2 separate regions of the Homo sapiens genome follow, and region 2 is linked to region 1. Evidence: promoter capture Hi-C in 16 types of primary human blood cells and fetal thymus (Javierre and others, 2016). All regions are on one chromosome and are shown on one strand. Each heading gives the region's core, a stretch centred on a gene start or on the middle of the fragment in contact. The rest is flanking DNA. Distances are from core to core; before and after follow the strand shown.

What was found. Contacts are between HindIII fragments. The CHiCAGO score rates a contact against its expected background, and 5 or more counts as called.
Region 2: a fragment that was not itself captured here is called in contact with the fragment with the promoter of NDST3 in region 1 in 1 of 17 cell types (megakaryocytes); the score reaches 5.5 in megakaryocytes.

Annotation. Positions count from the first base shown.
Region 1 is chr4:118,033,138-118,035,806 of GRCh38, forward strand. It overlaps NDST3 (N-deacetylase and N-sulfotransferase 3), which reads left to right and starts at 1,349. Exons shown (of 14, transcript NM_004784.3): 1 at 1,349-1,455. The HindIII fragment of the contact is 5,573 bases long and covers 1-1,659 here.
Region 2 is chr4:117,566,908-117,569,576 of GRCh38, forward strand. All of the region lies in intron 2 of LINC01378 (long intergenic non-protein coding RNA 1378), which reads left to right. Among named protein-coding and RNA genes, the nearest start is that of LINC01378, 140 kb to the left of the region's middle. The HindIII fragment of the contact is 8,689 bases long and covers 1-2,669 here.

The DNA of each region.
Region 1 (2,669 bases), core at 99-2,598:
TAACCTCACACCTTGAATCCAAAATATCTCTTCAGTTGCTGGCCTTCCACTTGTCTTCAGGAGCTGAAACACATGGCATTTGAAAAAAACTGGCGAACAGAGGAAACTCTTGCAGCCTCGCAGCCGCCCTGGTCCAGTGCCAACGGCAGGAGCACCACAGGAAGGGACCGCGCGGGTGCGCCCCACCCTTCCAGCGTCGCCTCGGGGACTCGCACCCCTTTCCCTGGCCGCACAAGACGTTTCATCCTTGGCGGCCGCCGCCAACCCGCCGGGAGGGGCGGTCGGAACTGGCAGGCCGGGGCGGAACCCCCGGGGTCTCCTTGTCGAGGCCCGGGCAGCCAGATCCTCAGGGCCGGTCCGGGCGGGAGCCCGGTCGATGGAGGCGGCTCCCGTCCTCAGCTCCCGCTCCCTCCCCTTCCCCGGGGCGGGCGCGCGCGGGCCGGGAGCTGGGAGGCGGCGGCTCCCGCCCGGGAGGCGGTGGCGAGGGCGGCGGAGGCGCGGCCGGGCGGGTCCCAGGGCCGTGGTTCTCCAGCGCAGGAGTCCCCGGCGCACCCGCTGCGCTCGCCCCGCAGCCGCAGCCTGAGCGGCCGAAGTCGCCACCAGCTGTGTCCGCGCAGATCCCGGGCGCGGAGGGGAGAGGTCGCCCGCTTGTCGCCCCCGCCGGACCCCGGGCACCGCGTAGCACCCAAGCGCCACCCGGACGAGGGGCCCTGGGGAGCGGCTGAGGCCGAAGACCCGAGGGAAGGAGGAGCCCGCGGACGGCTGCAGCCCCAGGTAATCTCCATGGAGGACGGGGCCGGTCTCCTCGCCCAGAAACCCGATCCGGGCGCCTTGGAATGCGGACTCCAGAGGCGGCATCTCGACCAGACAAGTTTCTCGCGGCTTGGAATGAGGGAGTCCTGAAACCGACACTCGTTTTATTTAACCAGCTTTTTTCTCCTGTTTTAAATAAGTTTATTTAGACAATGGAAAGAAAAAAACAAACAGCCTCTTGAGTGACTGTGGGTTTGTAAATATAATCCTAAAAGTTTTTCATGGTGTGGTTATTTGCTTGCTCATATTTATTAACCTGTTAACTCTTCCGCTAGTCAGAAAATTGACATGTAAAATATTCTTTGAGGAACGTTACAAGTTTGCTGTTGTATTCGGGCATCCTGTTATTCATCAGCTTAGTTAGCATCTGTCTTCCCCCGAAGTGGTACCAAAGCCGGTCCCTTGGCGACGGGTCTTGCATGTGACACTCTTGCCCTCTAGTGCCTCACCAGCTTGGTAGCAGTTTGATGGCTAATATTAATAAGATGTTACATAACATGAGAGTACTGGGCCAGGACTGGTGTTGCTACCACTTGTAAAGTCAAAAAGCCTGAGCCGATGGTAACGAGTGGTACTGTTTCCGTTTCTTTTCCATCTATTGCAACTTTCTCAAGCATTTTCAGCTCTGAACTTTAATTCCAGGTAAGTGTATTTATTTATTTATACTGTGCATTAATGCCTCACTCATAAATGTAGGGGCTTTTAAGAGATAACAACTTTGCTTTCAAATAATCTAAAAATTTCAAGATTGAACAAGTGCTTCATTTTATTCTTGAAGAAGAAATATAGAGTATTTTGATTAAATTAAGTGAAACAAAGGACCGTCTCATTCAGGGATGATTTTAAAGCTTCCCTTTCATAAGATTATGGTACTAAAGAAATGACCTCTTGTAATTGTTTAAGATATTCACCAACTTATAATGATTCTGAAGTAGATCTGTTTAACAGAACACATGTCTGTTGCCTTGACAGAATTTTGTAAGGAATATCAGAGACTTTAAACTACCTGCCTATCTACACAGTAATGATCCTCAAAAGGCTTTCTATTTGATGCAGTTTATAGACATTATTTAAAACTATACAATTAATAAAATTAAATGGAAATGGAAAGAATCAATCTAGGTATCAAATACAGAAACTTTAAATTTAAAGAAAACAGATATATCTTCTATTTAATATATCCATTTTGTGGGGGCAGGTAAAAGCAAAGTTACATCTTTAAGGGGTTTACTCAGATCCTTTTTCAAATAGTTTTTCTAATAGCTGGATACTGTTTAAGCATCAGAGTTATTTAATGTCGAAAATGTATTAGTATCTATATTCTTTATAAACATATTGAAATATAGCAACATGTAATCTGGAAGAGTTTAGAAGAAAACCCTTCTAGACAATGCAAACAGCTACATTCTTAATACATTTGTATTAAATTAAAATACAAATCAAATATTGAGATGTGTGCAACTGATCTGGGACACACACTTTTTTTTTGTTTTTTTTTTTTGCCCTTAGAAAATTTCATGTTATCAACTACTGAGCAATGCTGTTCACCACCAGAGAGCAGGATGATATGGCAGAGAAACTCTAGAATATCCGATATTCAGCTGAAGGGAATTTTTTTCCCTTTTTCTTCATCCATACCTTCCTATCAATATTATATTTAAGATGGAGATTTCAAATATAAGTTTGAAGGAGGCTCCTTTTTAAAATAGTACTGAACATATAAAGAGGCTTGCCTAAGATAAGCTCTTTTTTTTCTTTCTCTGGTTAACACAGTATCTACCATTTCTAATTTTGTTATCATTTTTCTTTATCATCTTGATGGTAAAACAGAAGATTTGTTTCTTTGTGTAAATAAT
Region 2 (2,669 bases), core at 96-2,595, 470 kb before region 1:
TATTTCACACGAGAGCTGCTAATTTTTGGAATAAAATATTAACATATTTTTATAACTAGTGTGTATATATTTTATATATATGAATCTGTGAATGTGTATGTGCTTACTAACACACACTTCTATAACACATAGATGTATCTGTATATGTTTGTGTACATATATATGTAAAAGACAGCATGGCATAAATATATGCCATCATTTTGTAAATACAAGATTGCTATTTTAGGCTAGTATATTTTCACATTTTATCTTTAGATTCTGCAAAGGCTTAAGAGATGCTCATGTGGCTATTTTAGAAAAGTAATTGGATTATATAGCAAACTAAAATAGTCTGTTGACATTGAGACAAAGATAAGTGAAAGCTGTGTATATTACTGCAATTTGTTGTCAACAAGAAATCACTGTGTGCTTACTTCATGAAAGGAACTGCTTGAAAGACTCAAGAAATCATCACATTCATCAGTGGTTTTCTTTATTCATGTGGTGGTCATAAGCATTAAGGAAGGGACCATAATTTGCAAAGAGAGCTTTTACAAACTTTAAGTAAATACTTATTGAACATCTACTTTGTAAGAGGCCCTATGAAGACATTACAGGAGCATATATGAATCTTGATGATTATTTATATTTTCCAGCACAGTGTGAGTGTCAAGTTCTATTCTAGCACAGTGTTGGTGTTAGATTCTATTCTAATATATTTTCCTGATAGGTGAAAAACGTTTATCGCCTAAGTTTTCAGTGTAATATATTTTACACAAATATGTGTGAGTAATCTGAGTACTGGCAACTCGTCTAGATTTACTTCATTCATAGAGACCATGACTGCTGAGTATCTACAAAAAGAGCTCTAGAGGAAGTAACAAAATTAACTGTGAGAATAAAAAATGTATAGAAGGTTTCAAACCAGAATAGGTCAGTGGTCCATCTAATTGAGTATGCAGTTTCTGAGTATTTCAATAAAAATCTAAGATTAGATCATTTAGAGATAGTCATCAATATGGCATTAAAAAGTCACTTAATTTTCAATCGTCTACTGCAAAGCAAAATCATTTTTTGCTCCACCTAATGATGTACTTAGAGTCAAGCTAAAAAGTTATTACCTATCTAAATATTGAATATAAAAATAATTTTATTTAAAATAACAACTCTTCCTATCACACAACTTCAGAAAAATAAATCATGAACTTTTAATCACTTCTGCTTACTACATATACACAAGTTTTTTTTATGGACTTCTAAATTGTGAGAAACAGAGGAGGTTGCTTAATAAGAATATGAAAATATTTGTTAAAGTAATAAAATACTTAATTTTGAGACTCTCAACCTAAGTTTTATAACCTGGATGTTGAACAGAAATTCTTGAAACATCATTATTTTTCTTTTGTAGAATACACATTATATTTATATATGCTGTAAACTTCACAGGTCTGTAATCCACAAGAAAATTAAAGCTGATACATGTAAAAGCACTGTTATACTAAACAATTATATTTAAATATAGGAATCACACTATACAGAGTGACAAACTATCTTTTTATTTTAATACAATTAATTGTGTAAATAAGCCAGCTAATGGTGGATTTTTAAAGCATGATTTTAGAAGTGAATGTGTTTTTTATCATAGAAGTAACAATTTTCTAAAGTAATGGACATTTGCCAAAATTATAGAATAATATTCAGAAGTTTTGGTTAGGGTCTACTATTGGTAAATCTATTAGCTTCATCAACACTTGGTAAGAAATTACCTAAACAAATAAATATAAGGTAAATAAAATTTCAGTAAAAATGAAAAGAGTAGCAACATAAGAAACCCATTTTTATGCCACCCACTGAAAAGCAAGGTATTAAAGCAACATGAAAAAAAGATCCAGTCATTTGAGTTCTCGCAATTAATTTTATTATATCCTTCCTAAAATTGAAAAATGAATGAGAGGTACAAAAACTTTTACACATTTAGGGGATATTCCAAATATATGCAAAACCCTGCACTCAGAACATTCACTAAGTTGACAGACCCTTACATTTTTATGGGGCTTATCTCCTATGCTCTAGCATGTGTCTTTCTAAGTCTGCTACTTCCTACCCCCAGATTCTGACATCATGATGTCTTCACTGCCATAAACCGGTGGTAAAATCCTATGAGATGGAGAGATAATCCATATCCCAGAAGACCAAAATAGGGCATCAAGACTAAGAGTCAAAGAAAGATGCTGAATTTATACTTCTGCCCTTAGTTTTCTAATTCTTTCTGTATACTGGTATAAAAAAATTAAATATTATTGCCACGTGCCAGATGACAGAGGTTATATTGATTTACTTTAATACAAAGAACACATATGAGATAGTAGCAAGCAAGGAAACATCACCTGATTAAACCTAAAATAAATTGTTGCCATTTTTCATGTTCTATCCCAAGAAAACAGACAAGTAAAATATGAACACAGTAGAAATCAACATTTCATCTTCCAAGTTTTGGACAGTGATGTTAATTTCTGCTTTTCCCAAAGGATGTATTATTGAATATAGTTTAAATTTTGTCAGAGTATTAATTCAGGGAATTACATTCTTTCTCATATAACCCTAGTCCCAGGCACGTGAAAGCCAAAAGAAAAAACACAGATATGAGTCTACCAATTTCTGAAAAATAACACCATACCCATGAGCTTGGA